Regions from separate parts of the Homo sapiens genome. Here regions 1, 3 and 4 are each linked to region 2. The links are contacts of gene promoters, found by promoter capture Hi-C in blood cells and fetal thymus (Javierre and others, 2016). All regions are on one chromosome and are shown on one strand. The core of a region is centred on a gene start or on the middle of the fragment in contact, and the rest is flanking DNA. Distances in the headings are between cores, read along the strand shown. Region 1 holds the start of ZBTB6 (zinc finger and BTB domain containing 6). Region 2 holds the start of DENND1A (DENN domain containing 1A). Region 3 holds the start of NDUFA8 (NADH:ubiquinone oxidoreductase subunit A8). Region 4 holds the start of TTLL11 (tubulin tyrosine ligase like 11).

Region 1 (6,880 bases), core at 3,239-5,738, 1.0 Mb before region 2:
ATGGAGTACTTAAGTAACAAAGTTCATAAAGACACAAAACCGTCCTCTCTTGCTTTCCCCTCTTCTGTTCTCAGGAAGAATTAAATACAAAATCATGGAATTTTAGACCTGGAAATGATCTTTCAAATGACCAAGATCAAAGTTATTTTACATATAAAGTTAAAAAGTTCAAGGAGAAATTCAGCACAATGTCGCTAACTAGTAACATTGGGTTATGAAGTCGGTTTTTTCATCAAACGAGACCTGCATTCTTGAAAGTCTCAAGGAAAGTTAAAATTCAGTGGAGAATGTCTTTCCCACAAAATTGTCAAAAAAAGGTTAACACTTATAACAACGAACATGTGATTCATTCATCACACAATTTTTATAAATGGTACAAAGTATATTACATTTTAAAATACAGAAGGGCTTCAATAGAAATTAAATACAGTAGAAATTCTACATAAAGCTAAGTTAACTAGAGGAGGACTAGAACAGCTTCAAAGAAAGATGCATCTAGTCAGTCTTCTTTACGAAAAGCAGTTCCTGTGTTTTAGAGAATATTATTTGCCCTGCAGTATATTTTAATCTTTGTTAAAATAATTTATAAAAGTTTTGTGTTATATGTAGACGGAGATGTTAGAGAACTATGGCTCAGAACACCATCTCAAATATGACTCTCGCTAAAATAATCATACAGTCATAGTTTTCCTTTTGGCATATTTTTGGAAATATAAAACTCTAGGGATGGTTAAGATTTTTATCAACACATAGTGAATGGAAATTACATTAATGTAAATGAAAAAATACAACACTAATAGCTACACCTTTTTAAATTGCTCATCTAGTAACAGCTAGAATATATATTGCCAATTCAAAATTTAAAATGACATGGATGAACCTCAAAGTCATTATGCTGGGTGAAAAAGCATTTCAAGAGGGAACGTACTATAAGATTCTGTTTATATGACAGTCCAGAAAAGGCAAAATAATAGTGACGGAGAACTGTTGCCAGGATTAGAGCTAGAAGGAGCTGACTACAAAGGGACAGCATAAGAGAGCTATTGGGAGTGAAGGAACTGTTCTGTACCGACTGCAGTAGTGGTGCACAAATCTTTCTGTTAAAATTCACAGAACTATACACCAAGAAGAAATTTCAATTTTACTTCATGTTAAATAAAAAATAAAATAGAGAGGAACTTTTAAAACAGTAGAACAGATATCCCTGGTAAAGGTAGAATTTCTCATTTTTCACAGCTTCATGCCAATGGTATAATTTTACTGGCCACAAAATTATTAAATCCGATTGTATTAAATAAAATCAAGAAACTCGGGCCCAATGAACCATTTCTTAAGTATGTATACTAATAAGGCATGGAAATAAAAGTATTTTAAGGATTATTAACCCTGTATAAAAAAATTCTGCTATTCCCAAGTGAATCTGAATTGTTACTTTATACATTTTAAAATGAAAAGTATCTTGGTGTTTAGTTTGGAATCCAAGAACAGCTGGTAAAAAGTTAAAAAAAAATTTTTTTAGTGCCATCTGTTCTAAAGTGACTAGAAACAGGTAATAGTGTTTTTACCTTTATTTTCTCTTCTTGTTATCCTAATTCATTAAAGTTTTTATATGATTGGATTTTATACTTAAATCAATTACCTAGAGACTCCAAATCGGAATCTGCAAATACTGCTGGATCCTTTGTCACTAGAATCAAGAATATATAAGAGAGGAACACTATTTCTCTAGGGATACTACTGAGACTTATATGTAAGGTATGAGATGAGACAGAATCCCATCAGCTTTACTGTGCCTCCCATAACTTTGGAACTGTTAGAAGTTCAGAAAGAATGATTATGTGTAAGCCGACAAAATATAAGAAACAAAGATTGGGGGGATGAAATATTACAAATGCTGCATCTCTACAGAAAGACTTGCGTAATAGAATAATACAAACTTTATATAACAAGTCTGTGATTATAATTATAGTAGACTTTGCCTTTTGAGATCAGGCCTAGATAGTTTTTCACCACTGCTTCTGCCATGGACAGAGGTTAAGTGCTTTTTGAGAGCAGACTTGTGCTTGAAATCCATATCACAACAGTGGCATTTGTATGGCCGATCCCCACTGTGTATGTTCAAGTGGTCCTGAAGTGTGCTTTTGGCAGTAAATGTCTTCAAGCACACAGTACACTGAAAGGGCCGTATGCCCATGTGTCCTCGGATGTGTCGGTTGAGATTTTTCTTCTGTGTAAATGTTTTTCCGCACTGTAAGCATAAGAATAGTTTATGCATTTTAAGGTGGCGCAGATAGTTTTCAACATGAAGAAAGCCTCGAGGACACCTGGGGCACTGGTGCCTCAGTGAATAACCTTCCTCCAGATTCTGAATCTCACTCACTGTACCATAACTTCCTTCAGTATTCTCACAAAATAAGCCCTGATCTTGATTCCCAGGAACTTCAGCCACTCTGCTCTCAACTGTAGAATTGATCAATGAATGCTGTGTTTCAGAGAAATACATGCTTGCTTTTGAAGAGGTACAAGGCTGTGAAAACTGCCCATTTTCGACACCAGCTGTACTGATGGATTCTACATGAAGGATACAAATTTCATTGTCTTTAAAACCTATGTCTACTGTAGACAGCTCTGGTGACTTCATTTCCTTTCTCTCTGATGTCAGACTCTCTACTGTAGACTGCAAAGCATTGCTTTCCTCTTCTTTAACATGGAAATCTATGTTTACAGGACTATCTTCTGAAATTTCAATTATCTCACAGTCTTTATCAGAATTTTCATCTTCATTCTTAACATCAGGATCAGAAGACTGACACAGGTCAGTGTGTTGGTTGTTGTTTTTCATAGAAAGATCAATTTCCAGATACTTTGACAAAGCTTCTGTGCACTTTTCCACAATGTGAACCATCTGAAGGTAACTGGCAGCAGTCAAGTATTTCAAAAGCTCTTTCCTTTTAACTTCAAGTGCTCCAGTATAGCAAGACAGTAACAATTTTCTGCCAACTTCTGCACTCTGTAAGATGGTGATTCTGACATGTTTTGACTGTGTGAGTAAAAACTGATCTCTCATAAAAGTGGAGCAAGCAGCCAAAATCACCTTGTGCCCCTGGAACTCAGTGTCATTAATGTAAATTGATACATCACAAAATAAATTCTGCTGTCTCAAAAGATTCATTTTCTGCAAGACCACATCTCCTTGCTGTTCAAACTGGAAATGCAGAACATCAGACTCAGCAGCCATGATCACAATCTAAGCAAAATAAAACACAAACATTGATGTAATAAGGATAGGGAATGCTTTCCCATGCTGTAATGGTGAAAACAAACGAAAAACCCCAAACCTGAATTAGGAAGAAGAAGACTCAAAGTCTAATGTAGGTGTTATGAACCTTTATGCCACCATCTCAAAACGAGAACTTTATAATGCACTTCTCTATGATCTCATAGCACATTTTTCATAACTTTGTTACAACATTCATTACAATGAATTGTAGTGAACAGTTTCTAGCTTGTTTCTTTTGCTAAATGTTGTGTGCCTTGTGGTCAAGAACAATCTATCAATTTTGAATATCCAATATAAGCACTGTGACCACCAAAAAGTTGATTTAACATAATATATCCAATTAGCAACTTTAACGTAATCTCCAAACTTCCTACTCCCCACCACTACAACAGGTCCTCCTTCCGGTTCACCTGGACAACTGCAATGTCTTCCAACAGGTCTTCTTTATACCACACTCTTCTGTATGCCAGATTACCCGCCTGAGTGCCACCAGGATTAACAACCCTTATTTTATTTTATTTTTAATTTCCCTTTTCTGCTTTAAATCTTCTATCGTTCTTCTCTACCTCCGGGACAGTCCAGATTTCTTAGGAAAGAATACGAGACCCATCACGATTTGGCTCTAACCCATCTTTATGGCTTTATCACCTTCTATTCTCTTTTTCATACTCGAACCTCGTTCAATACTAAATTTTTCCATCATTACCCAGACAAAAAGACACGAATACACATTTCTTACATTCGCGTTTCCAGTTCCTTTTTTCAGCTAGTGATTAGGCTCCTTTAAGCCCAAATCAAGTAAAACTAATATGACTCCACCTCCCGTTTCAACCAGAGAGAGTCAGCTGCTCTCTGAGCACCGCGAGATGGTGCCTGATGCATCTGTGTTCCTGCACCGAGCTCAGGGGCCCACACAGAGCAGGAGGAGCTCAGGGAACATCTGCTGAACTGAAACCGGATGCCAGGTTCAGCACACAGGTATTCTGGAGGCAACCCTGCGAAGGGCCAAGGCCCTGTCGGCCCAGTGGTTGCAGCACAAGATTAGCCACTCCGGGGCCGAGCCCAGCTGTCCTCCTCCTCCTCCTCCTCTTCCTCAGGCACCCTCCACCTGAGGAATCTACTTTGCACTCACTCACCGACTCAGAAAACTAGAGTCAAGGATTCCGCGGCAGCGTCTGCCCAAGCCGGAAGATGGACTTAGCCTGGAAGAAAACACATCCGGTGCCAACCAGCTTTATTCTTTACTGGGGCCCTCTAGGCGCCCCGGAAGGACATTCTGAGACGGTCTTCCTTCCTCACTTCCCCCCTCTTGGAATGACAGAAAGGCTCCTGAATGCCGGCAAGCCCCATCTCTCTTGTCCCAGTTTCGGCACTCGAGCCGTTTTCCCCCACCATCCCTTTTTTTTTTTAAGACGGAGTTTCGCTCTTGTTGCCCAGGCTGGAGTGCAATGGCGCGATTTCGGCTCACTGCAACCTTCGCCTCCCGGGTTCAAGCGACTCTCGCTCCGCAGCCTCCCAAGTAGCTGAGATTACAGGCGCCCGCCACCACGCCCGGCTCATTTTTGTATTTTTAGTAGAGACGGGGTTTCACCATGTTGGCTAGGCTGGTATCGAACTCCTGACCTCAGGAGATCCGCCCGCCTCGGCCTCCCTAAATGCTGGGATTACCGGGTTGAGCCACCGCGCCCAGCCGAGCCATTTCCTTTTGTGAGTCCTCCTGAACATCCGAATTGGAGACGGGGTTTGAGGTTCGGTTACGGCACGTCTGTCAGAGTAACCAGACCTTTTATGGATTATTCTGGGACGATTCCTCTCCTTATTGGGGCCACCTACAACTTGAAAGGTGGCAGAGCAGAAACTATCATAAAGATCCGTATTCGAGATTGCCTAGATAATGCCCCATCAGGAGATGGCCCCAACCTCTGGATCTAGCTTCACACTTAAATGCGTTCCTCCATCCCAAAACTTTTGGCCCAGCTGTTTCCTCTGACGTGCCCTAGCCTTTTCCCCAGGCTTTTTTTTTTTTTTTTTGAGACGGAGTCTCTCTCTGTCGCCCAGGCTGGAGTGCAGCGGCAGGATCTCGGCTCACTGCAAGCTCCGCCTCCTGGGTTCACGCCATTCTCCTGCCTCAGCCTCCCGAGTAAGCTGGGACTTCAGGTGCCCGCCACTTCGCCTGGCTAATTTTTTTTTTTTTGTATTTTTAGTAGAGACGGGGTTTCACCGTGTTAGCCAGGATGGTCTCGATCTCCTGACCTCGTGATCCGCCCGCCTTGGCCTCCCAAAGTGCTGGGATTACAGGCGTGAGCCACCGAGCCCGGCCTTCCCCAACGTATCTTTAAAGAACCCGTTTATAAATCTCATCATCCTGAAGCCATCCTGAACTGCCCTAAGATAATTGGTTCCCAGTTTGAAACCTGTAATCCCTTTTCCTGCCTTCATTATTGCACTTAACACGCCTGTATTAATTTGTGCCTCATCTAGGCAGAGTTATTTAGGACAGTGGCTTACTGATCTTTGTATTCTCGAAGTCTAGCACTTGGTAGGCATCAAGTATTTGTGCTGAATGAAGATATGACTGAAGAAATTCTTTTTCTTTTTTTTTTGAGACAGAGTCTCACTCTGTGGTCCAGGCTGGAGTGCAGTGGCACGATCTCGGCCTACCGCAACCTCCGCCTAGCAGGTTCAAGCAATTCTCCTGCCTCAGCCTCCCGAGTAGCTGGGATTACAGGTGCCTGCCACCACACCCAGCTACTTTTTGTATTTTTGGTAGAGACGGGGTTTCACCATGTTGGCCAGGCCGGTCTCGAACTCCTGACCTCAGGTGATCCACCCGCCTTGGCCTCCCAAAGTGCTGGGATTACAGGCATGAGCCGCCGCGCCCGGCCTCTGCACCAATTCTATTCCTTTTTTTTTTTTTTTTTTTTTTTTTTTGAGACAAAGTCTCGCTCTGTCGCCCAGACTGGAGTGCAGTGGTGCGATCTTGGCTCACTGCAAGCTCCGCCTCTCGGGTTCACGCCATTCTCCTGCCTCAGCCTCCCGAGTAGCTGGGACTAATGCCCTGCCACCAGGCCCGGCTAATTTTTTGTATTTTTAGTAGAGACGGGGTTTCACCGTGTTAGCCAGGATGGTCTCGATCTCCTGACCTTGTGATCCACCCGCCTCGGCCTCCCAAAGTGCTGGGATTACAGGCGTGAGCCACCGCGCCCGGCCGCCTCTGAACCAATTCTTAAAGGCAGTTGCTCTGCTCCTCCAGCAACAGGTTCTCGTGGAAGTAAATGAATCTAGTAACAACTTTCTGATTAATTCGTATTTTTTTCTGAAGGCAAGCTCAGCATGCTTAATATGTATTTTTAAGACTATACATAAAGAAGACCTTCCTGTATTCAAAGTAAAGCAATTAAAAAAGAATAGAAGGAGGGGAGAGTGAGAAAATAACCAATGACACCAGAGCTTTAATCGTCACACTTTTATTAAGGAAACTTCCCCATAATAAGTGAAGAGGTAGTTCATAGTATGTCTAACATACAACAGATTTAGAACAGCTATTCATGAGCTGAAATAAAATCTTCTGGGTTGTTTAGGACAGTATTTTAGAAGCAG
Region 2 (6,613 bases), core at 4,107-6,606:
TGTCCAGGGTCTCTCCCTCTGACCTCACCACAAGCCTCTCTGCCATCAGTCACTACTCAAACCCACTGGCCTTCTGTCCGTTCCTGAAATATGCCTAGGGTTTTCTTGCCTCAAGGCCTGGAATAAAAAGTCTTGCCTAGTCTCTTTAGATGACTAATACCTCCTCATCCTTTAAGTCTCAGCTCAAATGTCATCTCCACAGTGAGGCCTTCCCTCGCCACTCTATCTAAAATAGGACAGTCGCTCCCATCATTTTCTCTGAGGCAACTCATGTGCTTCCTTTATAGAACATCCACATAGCTTTATGTGAATTCACCTGGTTTTTTTAATGTCAGGTCCACAAGACTGTATGCACCGTGAGGAGTGAATCTGTATTATTCACCATCGTAATTCCCAATGTCTAACACAATTCCTGGCATTTAAGTGCCAGGAATAAATGGTAATATTTTTATTTCCCTAATATGCCACGTCCTCATATGTACTGCTCCCTCTGCTGATACCACCACCATCACTACTGCCTCTACTCCCTCTGCTAACCACCCCTACCTATCTCTCAGCTGAAACATGATCCCCTTGGTGAAGGCTTCCTTTCCTGACCCTCCCTCCTCCCCAGAAGACAGTCTCTCCTTCACTTACTCACCTATTCGTCACCAGCGGCATCTCCACCATTGCAATTAACTTATACTGTATTATACTTGTGTTTTGTTTTTTTTGTTGTTTTGTTTTGTTTTGGTGGGGAGGGAGTCTGGAAGGGATTGTTTTTGTTTTACATTTGTGTCCACTACTTTAGAAAGCCTTAAAGAAAAATATTTGTTCATCTTTGTGTCCCCAGTACTTAGCACACTGCCAGGCACAGTATTGCCACTAATTATGATAATAATGGCTAACATTTATTGTTTAATATGTGCTTAATCTTCTTAGTTCTACAGTAGGTAAATGGATGAATAAATGGATAAATTTCTTGGTCACTAACCTCACAGAGGTCACAGTTTGACAGGGACAGAAGACAGGTATACAGGCTAATGTAGAATAATCACCACCACAAGGCCAAATTAGTTGCCCTGCCCTGTTCCTATGCCTCAAGTCTTAGAGTATGCTTTTCTCTGAGTCCATAAATGTCACGTTTCTTCAAACTCACTTAGAAAACTTCCTTCGATTACTTACAGCCCACTTCCTGCACTTGGTGCCTGGAAGCAATTTCTAGGATGTCACCACAAGCAATATTAAACTGCCACATAGTTTCCTGCTGTGTGTCTGCATTATCAGTTAAATTGCTTCATATTAACCACATTCCAGTCCACTGGGATCATTCAAACACTAAATAAGATTTAAAAATACCTGTTGAAGATTGTCAGTTACCACTGCTCCTTTTATTCTTCTAGATAAATGTCCATACAGATGTAACATTTAGGTTTCCAGGGTGCTACCTGCATACTGGTGACCTTCTCTTTTTTTGTCCATTAAATGTTGATTTGAGGCAAGACAATGTTCCTTTATTAAAATAAACATGAGGCTGGGCACGGTGGCTCACATCACACCTGTAATCCCAGCACTTTGGGAGGCCAAGGCAGGCAGATCACCTGAGGCTGGGAGTTCAAGACCAGCCTGACCAACACGGGAGAAACCCGTCTCTACCAAATAAAGAAAATTAGCCAGGCATGGTGTCTCATGCATGTAATCCCAACTACTGGGGAAGCTGAGGCAGGAGAATCGCTTGAACCCGGGGGTTGGAGGTTGCCATGAGCCAAGATCATGCCATTGCACTCCAGCCTGGGCAACAAGAGCAAAACTCCATCTCAAAAAAAAAAAAAAAAAAAAGAACTAAATAATCTAGTAAAAGGCCTGCGTAAACCATATAATTTGCCTTAGAAATTTATAAAATATAAAACTTTTCTTCCTCAAGGGTTTTTTTTTTAACTCGATAAACACTCAACTCGGTCTTAATTAGAATCTTAATATAGATCCTAATGTATTTCTTAAATGCGTTCCATGAACTCTTCTCAAACAACCATGTGCCAGGCATTGAGTCTGACACAGGGAACTCAAAGATAAATAAGACAGTCCTTCCTCTCAAGAAGTTTATGTCCAGCATGGTACGGGACACAGACAAGAAACGAGATTCAGTATTGTGACTGCAATAAACACAAGGGGCCACAGAAACACGGATGAAGGGCACCTGGCCTAGACTGGAACAGGAGGGGGTGGGGGTGGCAACAGGAAACTGGCATCAAGGCAGGCGTCTGGGGGATGGCATCTGATCTTAGGCCTATAAACTCCCATTCTCTCATTTGAAAAATGTGGTTAATAAATAGCATCGCCACCACTGGACAGTAGTGAGGGTTTCATGAAATGGTTCACATTAAGGATTTCCACGGTACCTGACAGAGATTGTGTTCAACCAGGCTTAAACTTAAAAGAGAAGTCTGATCAAACACGAAATCTCAACACCTGTGCCTAGCAACTCACGTGCTTTACCACTGATCACACAACAGACACCAGCTTCACAATTACACACAATATTGTTTTAAATCAACTTTTATTTTTTAATAATGAGACAATGTTAAGCCCTACTCTGCATGTTAACAGCCTAATTCCTTGGTCATTAAAATTTTCTTCTCCATTACCTTAAACATACCTTTCTCTGACATTTCTAATATACAGTAATGTTCTTAGTCTTTTGATACAGAAGGTGAAAAAAAAGAAAAAAACCTAACAATTACTGAGTTTTTAACATGGACCTGACATTTACATTGATACTGTGTTCAATGCTCATAATAACCCTACAACCTGGACACAGTCCTCCCCATTTTACCTTCAGGGAAACTGAGGTTGAAAAGGCAGTCTGTGTAAAGTTTCATAATTAGCATTAAAAAGAGCTGGAATTTGAACCTAGACCTGATTCCACCTAGTCAACTGACTTGCTGCATCAGAGATAAGCAAGAGAAAACAAAAGGAACCCCTCCCCCTTGTCCCTACCTCCAAGACTGTCCTATTCAATGGAACCTGCACACTTAGATTTCACCACAGCCAGGAGAACATCTTGAATGCCCTGCCAGGAGGGAAAGCCAGCCAGTAGTAACCAAAGCTCTGTCTTCTCCAACAACTAGAGGAGCACTTAAGTGGGTAATTTCCTGTCCATCCCCATTCCTAGCTACAGGCAGAAGTTGCATAATCAACAGTCACTATAAATCACAACTACTTTTCATAACTTCTCTCTTCATATTCTCTTTCGGTTTCACCACAAGCTAACATATTTCCCAAGCCTAAGTTTTTATCACAGAGTAGTCTAGTTTCAAGATCAATAAGGCTATTCTTCATACTCATTTCACGCTTAATACAATTCCATGCCTTAGTAAATTCCCTAACCCAAGTGCTCAGAATTAGCGATGGGTTCCACAAAACACATTTGAGAAATGTATTTGTCAACCTGCTACCTTGGAGAGCAACAGAGAGATTTGATGGCTAGCCATCTGAACTTTTACTTGCTGGATTTTAATACTGGTTCTGACACTCACTGCTTCATGTCAGGCAAGTTTCTGAACTTTTCTGTAACAAGAAGGGTAAGTGTCCTCACGCATACTCTGCAACTCTAAGTTGGCTTCTGGAAAGTGTTTCTAAGTGCTATTGAAATCCAAGTTTACAACTCTTACTTGGAAGCAGGAGCTAAACTTGAGTGCCTCTTTAATCCCAATGTTTCACAAACGACATCTTTTTACCTCCCAAGCCTCTCAAGCTCTTGTTTGGAGCATGCTTCTAACTTTTTTCTCATTTCCACAAAAATAAAGATTTAACAGAGTGTTCATGCGACTCTTCCATTTTCATTACCATAAGCAAACTTTTCTAGTTTCATTCAGCAGATGTCTCAAGGCTGCTGCAGCGCATCTCATACATATTTTGTAAATGAGAAGCCTAACCACACGGGGGACTGCAAGGCTGGGCAAGGGTCACACTGCACGGGCATCACCTGGACATGAGATGCAATGTTTGAATAATTATTAGTTTCACCCTTAAGGCCCTTCTCCTTTCAAACTTCCCTAGTACAATTCTCAAAATGCTGAAATAAACACATTCCACAAACTTTCTTGTAAGAGGGTTTAAAGTGTCCTAGGAAAGTTGTTTTACAGAAAAGCCTATGCTGTCAACTTTGCTTTTTAATGCCCTTAAACAATTCTATTAGTCACAGAGGAAAAAGTGAACATTTGTTAGTAATTAGAGATAAAACATCTCCAGTTCTGGGGCAGAGGAAGGGAGAGGCCACAAGAGGACCTGGCTGGGAGGGGAGATAGAGTCGAAAGCCACACACCCAAATTGGACCGCTTAAGAGTTGCACTTTCCAAAGTCAACTTCTAAGTCTACAAGGACAGCAACAATGTTTCAGTGGATTCTGAAGTTACATGTATCAACAATTTCCCCGGAAAGCTAACCCTCCACCGGGAACTCCAGGTGAATGAATGAGTGAGGGAATTCGCCAGATTGAGTTACAAAGCCTTTCCAACGATTATCAAGAGCAGGTGCTCGGTTACAACACAGAGGTATCCTCCTTCACAGCCTTTGGACCTTGCTGCGTGGAGATTTTCACAGATAAGAGGGGGGAAATAGAGAGACAGGCCTTCCTCCCCGGCCATCCACACCTTAGGTGGCCACACCATGAGCGGCCCCTCCCTCTAAGAACCTCACGCGACTTCTGTGGGGGCCGCAGGCCTCAAGCGGCCAGGCTGCAACCTCTCCGGACCTGCCAACTTTCAGGGGCGCCCCAAACATGCCCAAACATGGGGAGGTGCTTCCGGGGCTTTCCCACTCCCCTTCCCCACAGTTGAAGGACCATTTTCAGGGGCTCTCCGTAAACCCGGGGAGGGGGCCGCCCTGTAATCTCAGCTGTTCCGACCCCCAGGTGAGGAGGGGACACCTGACCCCCGGCGCCCTGCCACCCCGCGCGCACCCCGCCCCCGCGCCTCCCTGGATCGCCATAGCAACCGTCCCCCTCCCCGCGTGCCGGCGTCACGCGGGGCGCCCCTCTGGTCTCGGCAACAAGTCCCCCGCGCGGCCCGCGGCCTGCAGCCCTGGCCCGGCCTCGCCGCCCCGCGCCCGGCCCGGCTCCGCCCGGCCCGGCCGCACTCACTTGATCCTGGAGCCCATGGTCCCCAGGCCTCCTCATGGGCCCGCGGGCCCCGCTCGGCGCTGCGCTGCCCGCCCGCCCGCGGCCGACCGGCCTCCCTCTGGCGCTCTCCCCGCCCCTTCCTCCCTTCCCTCAGGCTGGGGCCCGCCCGCTCGAGGCTCGCTCCCTCGCCGCCGCCGCCGCCTCCAGGGGTTAATGTACTCGCTCCAGCCCGGCGAACGCCATGGTCGCCGGCGCGCGTGCCCGGCGCGCGCCGCCCCCTCCGCCTCTCACCACCGCCCCTCCCGCCCGCGCTGCCGCCGCCGCTGCCCGCTGGGGCTGCTGGGAAGTGTAGTCCGCTCGCGGGGGCGGGGCCGTGGCCGGTGGGGGCGGGGCGGGAGCGCGGTCACCCGCACGTCTCCCAGGGCGCGGGCCCCGGAGGACTCTGGCGTTCCGTTGCAGGCCCTTACACATCTGCACCCCACTGCGCCCCGCTGGAAACCTCCACTCACAGCCGCCCTGAAGAGACCCTAATCCTCTCATGGAGACCCCAAGCCCTCCCGATGAAACCGCCACCAATCCTCCCATTGGAGGCCTCCCACCCAGCCTCTCTAACGGAGAGCTAATCCCCCGCCCAGGCCTCCATGAAAACACGTTTTCCCTTTAACATCCCGCACCTTCCAGTAAGTTCCGTGCAGAACCTCTTCTCCATCACACCGTCCACTTCCCCATCTGAAGGCCTTTCCTCTTCCTTTCCCCTTAGAGCTTGAAGGAGACCCCACATACCTACAGGAAAGCCACCTGGGGGCTTCGTGGACCCACGTGGTGGCTCAGCTCTGCCCTCCCGCTGAGGACCTCTGCCTCCCTTTATCAGCCGTTTTGGGAACTCCAACATCGAAGCCTCCTGTTAACACAACAGTCCCTGATAGAGATTAACTCAATGCAAATGAAAGGATTTGAGAGCCGAGATCACCAGCCTGCTACCTACCCCTGCTCCCCCTTGGGATTCACTTCCATGAACACCTCAATTTCATCCCCTCTAGGGCCAGAGGGATCATAAAGGAAGCAATAATCACAGCTACCATTAGCCACCCTTTAATGAGCGGGTGAGTGCCCTTTCTGCATCAGACACAGTATTTCCGTACATCATTAGTGCCAATCCTCACAATAATCCTGTGTTCATCTCCCTAATTTACAAAGAGGAAACTGAGCCACATTCCCAAGGTCACATAACTAGCAACGAGTGAAGAAGCCAAGATTAGTGTCCAGACTGAATCATTCCAGACACCTGTGACATAGTCATGCTTTAAGGTGGCACCTTTGGCCACAAGTCCAAAGACATTTTTAATATTAGGCTTTTTTTCCTTTTTTTTTTTTTTTTTCCAATTTTCTGTCCCGAAATGCCATTCATCACTTCTGCCATTTTAGTTCTTATAAATGCATGGAGTGCCTCCCCACCCTACCCCCACCCCATAGCCTCTACGTAACTGGTCCTGCGTCCTAGCTCCCGGCCAGGAT
Region 3 (6,919 bases), core at 3,421-5,920, 1.8 Mb before region 2:
TTCGCTCTTGTCCAGGCTGGAGGGCAGTGGCGCAATCTCGGCTCACCGCAACCTCTGCCTCCCAGGTTCAAGTGATTCTCCTGCCTCAGCCTTCCTGAGTAGCTGGGATTACAGGCATGCGCCACCACACCCGGCTAATTTTGTATTTTTGGTAGAGACGGGGTTCCTCCATGTTGGTCAGGCTGGTCTCAAACTCCTGACCTCAGATGATCCTCCCGCCTCAGCCTCCCAAAGTGCTGGGATTATAGGCGTGGGCCACCACGCCCAGCTGTAATTTTATTTTTTATGCACTTTATGCAGCTAGGTTATTAATAAAAGGCAAGGAAAGATGACAAGAGTAATTAATCTATACACTATAGAAAGGAGAATAAAGTTATGACTATGTCTATTAATAGTGCAACTGTTATAATTATCAAAGATAAAGTTATGACATAAGTGAAATCTGCCATGATGACTCTAATAAATTTATGTTTAAAATCTGTAAAGTTTTCATATTAAAGTTTTTGAAAATAAAAGAATTTATTTAGGTAAACTGGCACACATTTGCTTGTTTTATTACCTATAAACAGCTAGGAGAATAAAAACTAACACTCAAACTTTTTTAAAAGCTTAATATATTTTAATAATTAAGTCAGTTATATTTACTTGTCATATGCCTTAAAAGAGCTTTAACTGGCTGATTCAATTATTCAAAGGCCCAAAACTATACGGCCCAAAAAGACTGACGCATTATTTATTTCCCTACAAATGTGGAAATCTTATCAAAATGAAGGTATACACATGTTGCTGAGCATATAAAACACCATCCCTGTCACAGGAAAATAAAGGAAGACATTGAGTCTGTTTCGTAATTAATGAAAAAGAGGGATGTGCTAGAGACAACACAGTGAGTCAGTGGCAACCCCAGAACTAGAACACAGAGATTGTGACCTCCAACCAGGCTTCTTCCCATTATATCACCATCACTGAGGTGGATGAGCCTGAGATGTCACCATATCCCCTCACCTGCTTCTTCACTGAGACTGATGAATTCCAACAGAAACAACATCCTTTCACAGCTGTTTACCATGAATACCGTCTCAAATTCATTCAGATCTCTTTGTCTCAAACAACACAGAATTTCAACATCCTTCTCATTTATTCTCACAACAGCCTCATTGCACAGCAGGGCTACACAGTCTGCAGGTGTGGAAACTGAGACAAAGTCACCATCTAGAGCCAATCAACCTTCTAGTCCTGTCCTTGTCTCCTTAAACTACGTCTGTACCTCTTTTTATAGTACTTTATTTATACCATGCCTTGAGTTTTCCTAAATTTATGTAAAACAGAGAATAGTACTTAATAGAACTGTTATGAAGATTAAATGAGTTAATATATATAAAAATAATAAGAACAGTGCCTATCACATCGAAAGCACACCATAAATATTAGCTATTTTTATTTTTACTCAAAATTATCAAATGTGTCCAAGGACTTTCCAGTCCAAAGCTTCTGACTGCTTTTTCAATGGGGATGTGTCATAACTCCTAAGCCAATGAGGTCCAAAATGTATTTAACTCGCTCTCCAAACGGGCTCCTTTTTCTGGCTTCACCAGTACTATTGCCACGCTGCAAATCTGACTTTGATTCTTCAACCTTCCCTACCTCCAATATCTAATCCATTGCTAAGTCTGATCAATTCTAGATATACTTGTTCTTTGCTCTCTGTAAGCACAGTCTCTGTAAGCACCAATTACACTGGGATCATTAACATCTTTCTCAATAATTTTAAGAGCCACTGAGACTAGTCTCCCTGCTTTTCTTTTTCTTTCTTCAATCCATTCTTCACACAGCTGCTACCGTGATCTCCCTAAATGACAATTCTTATTTTACTCTGCTATTATATTAGCAACCAAACTCTCATTCAGCCTTAACAGCAGAATAAAGCCTAAACTTCTTAACGGGTACTGAAAGGCTTCTGGACCCAAACTATCTTTCCACCCTTCTCACCACAACATTTCAAAAAGGGACTGACTATTTACTGTTCTCTCAAAACACTGAACTCCTTTTTGACTCTCTGCATTTTCCCATCTCCTTACTTTTGCTCAGACCCTACCCTCACTTAGAGGGGTCTTCTCTTCATCTCCGCCCATAAATGCCATTCTTCATATGCCATTTAGTCATGTCTTACATTATGTCCAAAAAGTGCTTTCTCTATTCCCTTTATAGTTTCAGAGAATTTTATAGCTGGGATCACCTCATCTTACAAATAACCATGTCTGCAAATGCTAAAATCAAGTAATCAAGGTGACCGGCAGGTAGGCCTAGAATTTAGATACAACTTCAAATCTTTTCCTAAACCACATCTTCCCCCTTTCATAGTATTTAATCACACCTTGTCTTGTATTTTAGTTATTTATGTAATTATTCGTATGTTCATTCAATTGTGTGAAGACTAAAGGCAAATGTATTTCAGATACATCAGTTGTATGAAGTAGAACTTCAGATGTTTGTTGAACCTAATAAAAATTGCAACAAGAAATACAGCAACTCAAGATTAACCCAGCTACATGGGGTGGGGGCAGGGGGGTGGTTCGCCGGGGGGAACAAAAGAGTGGGGGCCACATGGCAGCTCCCCTCTGCCACCTCAGAGTAAATGTCACTTTAATATAATAAAGTCCCTGAACATAGCTAATAATTTCTTCCTCTGAGGAAAATAACAGTTGCCACTCTCACAGGCATCTAAGATTAAATGAAGCATTGCAGGTAGAAGACTTAACATACGGCCAGGCGCGGTGGCTCACGCCTGTAATCCCAGCACTTTGGGAGGCCGAGGCAGGCAGATTACGAGGTCAGGAGATCGAAACCATCCTGGCTAACACGGTGAAACCCCGTCTCTACTAAAAATACACAATATTAGCCGGGTGTGGTGATGAGCGCCTGTAGTCGCAGTTACTCGGGAGGCTGAGGCAGCAGAATCGCTTGAACCCGGGAGGCGGAGGTTGCAGTGGGCCAATATCGCGCCACTGCACTCCAGCCTGGGCAACAGAGCGAGACTCTCAAAAACAACAAAACAAACAAACAAAACACTTAACATAGTGCCGGGTATATCATTGCTGGTACATCATTTCTAGTCTTGGCCTTCCTCTCCTTTAATATAGCCTGTTCTACTATCCAGCCCTGCCATGACACTCCTCTGCCTTAAAACCTTCCACTCTTCCCACCACCTCCCTTACTGGATCAAGTCCAAACTGTTTGGTCTGGCCTTGTAGAAGCTGCTTCCAAGTCCTATCTCAGCCCAAGTTGCCTCTCCAGGCTCAGCACCTGCTGCTTCCCACCACCACCACTAGGGTCACATCAAACTGTACTTGGCTCCCTAAACACACAAGTTCTGCTAGGCCGTCTCATTCTTGTGAGTTTTCACCCATAATATAGTGGAAAAGCATTGGTTTTAAAATCAGACTTGGGTTCACTTCCAGCTCTATTACTTACGAGCTCCGTGACCTTGGGCAAATCATTTCTACTCTCGGGGACTAATTCCTTATTTATAACGCTACGACCAATTGTGTGTGTGTGTGTATATATATATATATGACCAATTGTGTGTGTGTATATATATATGGTATATACATATATATATATACACCAATTGTGTATATATATATATGGTATATATATATACACACCAATTGTGTGTGTGTATATATATGTGTATGTGTGTGTATATATATATATATCCTACCTTATAGTGTTGCTGGGAGGATTCAATGAATTAATGCATGGAAAGTAATTAGCATCCTGCCTGGTATCTAGAAAGGACTTGATCATGTTAGCTATAATTAGTAGGGTATGTTTCTACTTCACTCCTCACAGCACTAACTACATTGTACTGTGACTGCCTCTTTATGTGTCTGTCTCCCTACTGGATTGTAAAGTCCATGAAAGCACGAAGTATATCTCTTCCAGCGTTATGTGTACACGTTAATTACTGAAATGATATCTCTTGAATAAACGAATGCTTTAAATGGGTCCTGTTACCAAACACCTTCCCAAGGCTGTGAGTAGATGCACGCTCCAATATTGTCTCATTTTCCCGCGGCTTCGTCACCCCACTCTATGCACTCTGCACCGGTGATACCACTTTAAGGTAGATGACCGTCTCCCTCGACTGTGAGCCCCTAGGGTTGTATACTCACCTCGCATGCAAGTTTGAGGATTAAGCGACATAAGCTAAGTAAAATGACTGGTTGGTGCTTAATAAAATGTATCACTATTATTCACGGAAGGAGAAATAGGTCGCTGTGGAGGGCGAAAGGGGGAGGATTCTAGAGCCACTGCAAGATGCGACAGGGTGGGGTAGAGAGGGGAGGCGACTCCCAAAGCTGCGGAGGGGACCTCCGGGGGTCGACCTGTATATGCGTTGGAGGACTGGGGAGGGGGGCCCGGGTCCCAGGATCCGCGGAGCCCAAGGGGGGCTAGGCCCAGGCCCGAGAAGCCGCAGCCCCATGTCTCCCTTGCCTGTCCTCCGGATAGCCTCACCTCATCTACTTTCAGCTCCTCTAGAGTGGGCAGCTCCACTATCCCCGGCATGACGGCTGCAGCCCCGACCCCGACGAGAAGCCCTCAGCCGCGTCGCCCCCGTCTCCTTGAACTCCCCTTTCGACCGCCGAGTGCCACACGGCGCCTGCGCATGCGCATCCGGCAACACGCAGGCGTATTGCCCTGCCCAACCACGAGCGAGGGAGCGTGCGCAATACCAAGAACTTTTCAGCCTCCAGCGGGGTGGGGCTTCGATTCGGCTCCGCCCACCCCTCCAGGTTGTCATAGTGATGCCGTATCCACTGAGACTCCGGATCCTAACAGCTGGAAGCTAAAAACAGGCGCCATGGAGTACACAGGGAGCAAATATATCGGGGAATATGTAGATGGGAGGTAAGGGGCTCATTTGATTCACTTACTATACCTTGAATAGCTGTGACTGGAAAAAGACGGCTTTTTGCTTCTGCGAAACACCTTGTGCCAGGCACTTTCACAAACTTGCCCGAGTAATTTTTTCAAGGACCATATCTAATAAGCAGCAAAGCTAAGATGCATTCATTCCATATATACTTATATGTGTGTGTGCATTGACTGTGTGTGTGTGCTATCTGCCAGTTTTAAACATAGGAATAAGAATATTTAAAATGTCAAGATCCTTGCTCTTATGGAGTTTATAATCCAGTTGGAGATGTATTGCCAATAAACAAATAAGTGATAAAATAATTACAGATAATGGTAAATGCTATAAAAACAAACACGAAGATTAGGGAAGAGAGACTGGCTAATCTGAATCTACACGGTCGCTTCCTTCCAGGAGGAGTTCACGATCTAGGGATTATTATAGAGGATTATATACACAAATCACTGTAGTGGACTAGTAGTAAAAAACAATTCAACAGTTTTTTTTTCTTTTCTTTTCCTTCCTTCCTTCCTTCCTTTTTTCCTTCCTTCCTTCCTTCCTACCTTCCTCTCTTTCTTTCTTTCTCTCTCGTTTTTGTTTTATTTTCAGACAAGATCTCGCTCTGTTGCCCTGGCTGGAGTGCAGTGGCCTGTTCACTGCTTACTGCAGCCTCAACCCCCTAGGCTCAAACAATCTTCCCACCTCAGCCTCCCAAGTAGCTGAGACTACCGGTGTGCACCACTACCCCCAGCAAATTTTTCAACGCCTTTTGTAGAGACGGCATCTTGCTATGTTGTCCAAGCTGGTCTCATACTCCTGGGCTCAAGTGATCCTCTTGCATGAGCCACCGTGCCCAGCAATTCAACAATGTTGAGTGGCTACCGAGTACCAGGCCCTGTAATTGACTCTGGGCACAATCCCTGTCTTCAGAAAGTTCATTCAAACATGATGCGACAAGTAGACATAACAGATAACTGCGATTCAGTGTGGTAAGAGCTGTAGTAGAGAGAAGCAGAGGAAACACAGAGGTGGCCACTCTTTTTTGCCAACCACCCTGGATGAAGAAAGTGGAATCTCTGTTTTTATAGCTGAGGAAACCAAGGCTGGACGATATGAAGTGGTTTGCTGAACCAGTGCTAGTTGTCGGGACTGTGAAGCACTCCCACCTTGGGGCTCTGTATTCACAAGTTGGTGGAATTCCAGGGCATTCTGAGTTAATAGGAAAGAGGGATCTGTGGTCTGGACAGGGATAGGAGATAGATTCCTAGAGAGGGTGGTAGGAATGCTATGGGATGCTATCTCTCTAATCATTACATCAATTTTGCAAGGAAGATGTTATTATCTTTCCAGGTAAGAAAGGTGACCCTTACAGGGCTTGAGACACTTATCCTACTCAGCAGGTAAGTGGCAGAGGTGCTTGGTGTGTACTCCCTCTCACTACTCAGTGAGATAGTTCAGGCTGACCTTGCAAATAAAGGAACAGAAGTTAGGAGAAGCAAAATGACTGGCCCACCATTATGGATACACAGCTAGGAAGTAACAGAGTCAGGATTTGAACCCAATCCTCTGTCCAAACCACATTCTTACTTTTCACAAGGCTCTGCTACAGTGAAGGTGGTAGAATTTTGGCAGATAGAGATGGGGTATTGGGCATTTTAGGCACAAAAAGTTGAGAAACTACATTAATTTTCGATGGGCTGTATATGGGTGAGAGAGAAACACACAGACAAGGTAAAAGACGGAAGGCTTTCAACCATTTGCCTTTGGCCTTCTGTGTATTTTCATTGGGTTTGTGTGCTGAATCAGCCATTTCCATGCTTTGGCCCTAGGAATTTGGGCTTTGCTTGAGGTTGTCTGGTACCTCTGTAACCACGATAGGGATTCCCAGACCTGAACAGGGCTTCCCAATTTCCCATAACTAGCAAGAAGTCAGCAGTTTTTCACTTGTTATACTTCTTTTCATAAGTTGGACATGTGTTGTTCTGTACTGATTTTGTATTT
Region 4 (6,067 bases), core at 2,952-5,451, 1.8 Mb before region 2:
ACCCTGTTAAAGTGGACGGTGATATATAGCTCCTCACTATGCACCCATAAAAGGAGACACAGCTCTCACTCTGGTTGGTGTTCATGACCTTATTTCTTACCTGGGCTACTCATCCACTCCCACCAAAGCCAGCCACCTGAGTACTCCCCAAACCCACAGCAACACAGCATGGGCTGCAAGAGATACTGTTGCTCACACCCTTGCACCACAGCCCCCAGTAGAAGTTCTTGCTCCTAAAACAGCGCTGGGAGTTCAAGATGATCTCATCCAATATCACCTCATAACAGATGGGGAAAGGCAGGCATAAGAAAGGTCATGTGTTTGCACTTTGTTAGTACCAGGGATATATATATATGTTAGTTTTCATGCAGTCAACTTTGTAGGAGGTACTAAGAATACTATAATCATAGTTTAAAGCAGGAAGGAACTTTAAAGTTTAGCTACTCTGGCACTTTTCAACCTCCACACTAGGGTGTCAAGATGTGATGTAAGCTCTCTTGCAAATATTCCATAATTCATTTGATGAATATTTATTGAGCACCTAGAATATGCTGTGCATTAGGGACATAAGTCAGATACCACCCCTGCCCTCAGGACTTCATGCAGTAATGAGGAAGGGTGACAGTAATAATCACAAGCCTAATAGTAGAGTCTTATTGTTGCAAGTGAATTGTTTTTTTAATTTTCAATATTTTTTTTAGAGACAGGGTCTTGCTCTGTCACCCAGGCTGGTGTGCAGTGGCACAATCATAGCTCACTGCATCCTTGAACTCCTGGACTCAAGTGATCCTCCCACCTCAGCCTCCCAAGTAGGTGGAATTACAGGCATGAGCCACCACATTCAGTGAATTATGTTTTAAAATATACTAGAATAAACATCTCCACCTATATGCCAATGTGTTCTCTGAGTGGGAAAAAAAGGGCAGGGTTGGAGGTGGAAGAAGCAGTTACAGGTAGTGCCTTGGAAAAAGCCTACCCACTGGGGGTGACCAGTGCAACAGTCTCATGTAGATCAACATTACCATTATGCGGCTACCGAAGTAGAGAGTAGATCAACATTACCATTATGCGGCTACCGAAGTAGAAAGACTGGAAACTGCTGAATTAGCTCTGTCCACCCCTACTTTACAGATAAGCAAACTGAGGCCTCAAGGGTTTAACTGACTTGCCCTGATAAATGGAAGAACATCAAAATTCTGTTAATGGCTCACATAGCCTTCCTCCCCAAAACAGGTCCAAATCCCATCGCATGGCACATGATCTGATCCCTGCTCATTTCTGAAGCCCCATCTCTTACCACTCCACCTCCCACGCTATGATCCGGCCATACTCAAAGTCCTGAAAGGGCCTCTGCTTTGCCCACACCACTCCTGCAACCAGGGATCCAAAGTCCATGACCCTAAATAACTCCAGTTCATTTTCAGCACTCACAACTCAGCTCGGGTTTATTTCCTCCAGGAAGTCCTTCCTGGGTGCCCCTCCTCTACCTCCCGCAGCATTTCTCCTTTCACACAGAAACACTCATCACATAATGTATTCATTCATTCAACGAATATTTATTGAGCAACTTCTGTGTGCCAAGTACCTGCGGGTACAGCAATAAACAAAACAAAGCCCCTGCCCTCATGGAGCTTACATTCTAGTGAGGGAAACGACAATAAACAAGCAATACATAATATAATGCCTGGCGAAGTTTAGTACTATGGAAAAAAAATAAATACCAAGGGCTGGAGATTGATGGGGAAGGTATCATCTAAAGAAGTGACAAGAGTAAGCCATGCAAATAAATGAAAAGGGAGAATTTCAGGATGCAGCAGCAATGTAATGACCTGTAATGACCGCAATTATTCCTTTACTTGTGTTTTATTCCCTATTGAACCATGAAGTCCTTGGGGGCAAGGGTCACATCTTAAGTATGTTTGGTTCCCAGGGCCCAGCAAAGAACTTGGCACCTCCAAAGTGGACATTTACGGAATGAGTGAACGAACCTGGGCTGGGATGTATTAGTCCATCTGGCCCCATCTCTCCGAGCAAACGAGATCTGGCCTGCTTTATGTCTCTCTCTCCCACAGGGATAAGCTAAGTGGAGGCCCCACTTGGGCCAATCTGCCTAGCCTGACTCCATAGCCTGGTTTTATTTGCTGGATTCTCCCTTCATTAAGACCACGGCACTGACAAGTTGTCCAGTTGTACCTTTTCTAGCCCTCATATCTCTGGCCTGGACCTGGGGCCCTGCCTAGAAACCCAGATACTTTAGAACTGAGAGCCTGCCTTTGTTTTCCCCAAGTTTCCCCAGCATGAAAGTTCCCCTCTGAATCCCAAGCCCCAAGGCTGGGGGCCCAGACACTTGGAGTCAAACTTCCCCAACGGCTACACCCTATCCACCTGGAAGTCGGTTCTGCCTGATCCTTGACTTCCCTCCAAACCAAATGCACTTTTTCCTATTGGGACATCAACCCTCTGACCACATCAGTCCTTTCTGTGGCCATCTCTCTGTATGTTCCAACTTAATGAAACCATTACCGAGCATCTACCATAGCCAAGGCACAGGGCTAAGAACCTGAGTCCTCTGTTACCCGCAGCAGATCCCTGTTACCACTGGCTGTGTCCACACTCAGCTATCCTTAATCAAACTCCTGACACTCCTGAAAGCACATTAAATACCTTATATGCTGCAAATAAAGTCAAATGGCTTTATCCACGTAGCCAATTGCAACAGACACCTCTAGAGTCACTGGTGCTACATTCCATCCCCTGCCAGTCTAAAATGGGCTCAGGGATGATAACTCATGTATTCATTCACCCTTTCATTCACTGCTTACTGACACATGCCGTAAGCCAAGCCTGGAATATAAAATACAGTGCCTGATTTTATACCACTGATCATGAGGACAGTGGTGGTGCTGGTGGTGGTGATGGTGATGATGGTGGAAGAAGAGAGAAAGGAGAAGGTGGTAACGTAAGTTACCATTTATTGCAGACTTGTGCTATAAAACACTAAGTAGTGAGTCTTCTAATGCTAACAAGATGATGAGATAAGTATAATTGGCCTCACTTTACAGAGAAGGTAATAGGCTGAAGAGGTGAAGCAACTTACTCAAGGTCACACAGCTAAGTAGCAAAGTGTAGTGAGACCCTAGGCCTGTCTGCCTCCAAAATAAAAAGTGTTCCTCTGCCCAAGAGTCACACAGCAAGTGCTAAACAAATATAACTTCAATGAAGAAGTGAGAGAGCGGGTCCGGGGCCCCAGGGGCTTACAAGCTGGTGGAGGAGACAGACGTACACATATCTACAAGCAGAGGCAAATGCTGATGGCTGAGACATAAAAAGAGCTGCAGGGAGGCAGAGGAGTGAGTGGCTAACTTGACCTGGAGGGGTCTGGGGGGCCCTCTTGGAGGAAGTGATTTTGGGGGGTAGGCCTTGAAGGATGAGCACTTTGCGGCTGACAAGCAGGCCCGAGCGTGGTGCACCGCAGGAGCTCAGCCCTCGCCCGCCGACCTGACCTGGGCCGTGCCGAGACCTCTGAGGTCGTCCTGTCCACCCCACTGTGCCCACGCGGCCGGGTCGGGCCGGGCCTCACCTCCTTCCACTTGAGCTGGCGGATGCTGATCTTCAGGGCATCCAGGGAGGTCCTGGCCTTGGAGCTGTCCACGGTGACCGGCCGCTGGGAGCCGTTCTCGCCGGAACCGTGGCCCGAGCTCCGCTTGCAGCTTCGGCCCTTGTCCCGGGGCTTCCCGTGCGGGCAGAGGCCCTGCACCGGCTTCGGCTTGGACGGGGGCAGCGTGGGCGGCGGCCGCTGAAGGACCTGGGTGTTCCCCTCCTCAGCCGCACTGGGCTGCGCCGGGGCCGGGGCCAGGACCTTGGGCTGCTCCTCCCCTGCCTTGCACTCCGGTTCCCCGGCCGCGCCCGCGTCCACGCGGACCTGTTCCGCCACCGTCTCCGCTGTGGCCTCGGCCTCAGCTTTGGCCGCCGCTTTGGCCGCAGCCACCGCCTCCGCCTCCCACCGGGCCGCCAGCTCGCTCTCGGAGCTGCCCCGCCGCATGGTGCTCAGGGCCGGGGCCAGTGCCAGTGCCACCGCCGCCGCCGCCGCCGCTCCGCCGCCCCAGTCCGCCACCAAACTGCCGCCGCTGCAGCCGCTGCCACGCGTTCCCCGCCCGAGCCCGTTGCCATGATCGCTCAGGCTCGGGTTGACAGCGGCAGTCACCGCATCGAGACGGGGTCCGGGAAGGGACAATCGCCGGCCGAGCCCCAGCGACCTCATAGGCGAGGCTGCCCACGTGACCCTGCCTGTCACAGAGGCAGCGGCGGCCATGTTGGAAGAGGGCAAAGAGCCGCCAGGACCCGCCCACCCCGCGGATGCGCTGGATCTCGAGGGCGCAGAACTCGGAGTGGCGAGGAGAAGCGGGAGGGCAGATTGAGCGCGCGTGGGGCTCGTGAGCCTGGGGACTGGGAGTAAAAACAACTACCTCAAGCAGGAGGCTCAGTCCCCGCCAACACTCGCTGGGATAACTCTCGATAGGACGGAGGAGGAGCCCCCCAGTGGGACCCTCCTCAGTGCAATGGATGGGACCCTCCTCAGTGCAATGGATGGGACCCTCCTCAGTGCGATGGATGTGAGCAGCCCAGGCCCTAGGGGAGCAGAGAGTGTTCCGCTGAAGAAACCCTCTGCTGGTCCTTTGAGCGCCCCCAGATAAGAGGGGAGGCACTTTTCCCTGTTCTCAGGGAGCTCCCGATGGGATGGGGAAGTCATGGGCATGGGTAAGCCCCCTATAGATTCCCACTCGAGTTGAGGATATTAACGATTTTTTCTTTTTCTTTTCTTTTTTTCTTTTTTTTTTTTTTTTTTAGACAGGGTCTCTCTCTGTCGCCCAGGCTGGAGTGCAGTGGCGCGATCCCGGCTCACTGCAGCAGCCTCAACTTCCAGAGCTCAAGGGATCCTCCCACCCCAACCTCCCGAGTAGCTGAGACTACACGAATGTACCACCACTCCCGGCTAAGTTTTGTGTTTCTCGTAGAAACGTGGTTTCGCCATGTTGCCGAGGCTGTTCTCAAACTCCTGACCTCAGGTAATCTGCCAGCCTCGGCCTCCCAAAGTACTAGGATTACAAGCAGAACCACCGCGTCTCTTGTTTTCTTTTTTGTTTTTGTTTTTGTTTTGTTGTTGTTGTTGATGTTGTTACAGAGTTTCGCTCTTGTCGCCCAGGCTGGGATGCAATGGTGTGATCTCGGCTCATTGCAGCCTCCGCCTCCCGGCTTCAAGCAATTCTCCTGCCTCAGCCTTGTGAGTAGCTGGGATTGCAGGAGCCGGCCACCATGCCCGGCTAATTTTTTGTATTTTTAGTATAGACGGGGTTTCACCATCTTGGCCAGGCTGGTCTCTAACTCCCGACCTCAGATGATCCACCCGCCTCAGCCTCCCAAAGTGCTGAGATTACAAGCGTGAGCCACCACGTCCAGCCTGACTGCTTTTACTTATATCACTTTTTTTGTTGTGGTAAAATATAACAAAATTTGCCATTTTAACCATTTTTAGTGTACAATTCAGTGGCATTCTGTATACTCACATTGTTGTGCAACCAGCACCACTATGGGTCTCCGGAACTCTTTTATCTTACCAAACTGAAACTTTGTGTCTATGAAACAATAAGTCGGGATTCCCTTCTCTCCTAGTCCCTGGGAACCACCATTTCTACTTTCTGACTATGAATTTGACTATTCCTGGTTCCTCATGTCAGTGGAATCATACAGTATTTGTCTGGCTTATTTCACGTAGCATAATGTCCTCAAGGTTTCTCCATGTTGTAGCATGAGTCCAAATTTCACTCATTTTTAAGACTGAAAAATATTTCGTCGTGTGCATACACCACCTCGTTTTTATCCATTCATCTGTCAATGGACTTAGGTTGTTTCCACCTTTTGGCTATTGTGAAGAATGTCGGTTAACATTGGTATACAAATACCTGTTTGAGCCCCTGCTTTCCATTTTTGGGAGTTGCCATCATTTTAAAGCCAAACCAAGGAGAAAGCTCTCCCCTCCCACCTGAGGGAGCCGCATTTGTTTTTTTAG

What was found. Contacts are between HindIII fragments. The CHiCAGO score rates a contact against its expected background, and 5 or more counts as called.
Region 1: the fragment with the promoter of ZBTB6 here is called in contact with the fragment with the promoter of DENND1A in region 2 in 1 of 17 cell types (non-activated CD4 T cells); the score reaches 6.5 in non-activated CD4 T cells.
Region 3: the fragment with the promoter of NDUFA8 here is called in contact with the fragment with the promoter of DENND1A in region 2 in 2 of 17 cell types (activated CD4 T cells and total CD4 T cells); the score reaches 7.3 in activated CD4 T cells.
Region 4: a contact is called between the fragment with the promoter of TTLL11 here and the fragment with the promoter of DENND1A in region 2, in 1 of 17 cell types (total CD4 T cells). The highest score is 6.5, in total CD4 T cells.

The regions. Positions count from the first base shown.
Region 1 is chr9:122,908,835-122,915,714 of GRCh38, forward strand. ZBTB6 (zinc finger and BTB domain containing 6) reads right to left here and starts at 4,489. Exons shown (of 2, transcript NM_006626.6): 1 at 4,417-4,489; 2 at 1-3,247. The coding sequence starts at 3,238. The coding sequence ends at 1,964. ZBTB26 (zinc finger and BTB domain containing 26) reads right to left here. Exons shown (of 2, transcript NM_020924.4): 2 at 6,732-6,880. RefSeq lists enhancers at 4,204-4,313, 4,324-4,553, 6,022-6,779. The HindIII fragment of the contact is 12,849 bases long and covers 2,873-6,880 here.
Region 2 is chr9:123,924,770-123,931,382 of GRCh38, forward strand. It overlaps DENND1A (DENN domain containing 1A), which reads right to left and starts at 5,357. Exons shown (of 24, transcript NM_001352964.2): 1 at 5,120-5,357. The coding sequence starts at 5,136. RefSeq lists enhancers at 3,114-3,163, 4,214-4,293, 4,229-4,914, 4,544-4,743 and a silencer at 5,094-5,583. The HindIII fragment of the contact is 11,751 bases long and covers 1-6,613 here.
Region 3 is chr9:122,155,109-122,162,027 of GRCh38, forward strand. It overlaps NDUFA8 (NADH:ubiquinone oxidoreductase subunit A8), which reads right to left and starts at 4,671. Exons shown (of 4, transcript NM_014222.3): 1 at 4,519-4,671. The coding sequence starts at 4,569. MORN5 (MORN repeat containing 5) reads left to right here and starts at 4,800. Exons shown (of 5, transcript NM_198469.4): 1 at 4,800-4,911. The coding sequence starts at 4,865. RefSeq lists an enhancer at 4,582-4,876. The HindIII fragment of the contact is 8,418 bases long and covers 1,487-6,919 here.
Region 4 is chr9:122,089,107-122,095,173 of GRCh38, forward strand. TTLL11 (tubulin tyrosine ligase like 11) reads right to left here and starts at 4,202. Exons shown (of 9, transcript NM_001139442.2): 1 at 3,581-4,202. The coding sequence starts at 4,042. It overlaps LOC124902263 (a long non-coding RNA gene), which reads left to right and starts at 5,026. Exons shown (of 2, transcript XR_007061757.1): 1 at 5,026-5,066. It overlaps LOC124902262 (a long non-coding RNA gene), which reads left to right. Exons shown (of 3, transcript XR_007061755.1): 3 at 1,931-2,173. RefSeq lists enhancers at 3,730-4,443, 4,193-4,382 and a silencer at 3,793-3,842. The HindIII fragment of the contact is 9,416 bases long and covers 1-6,067 here.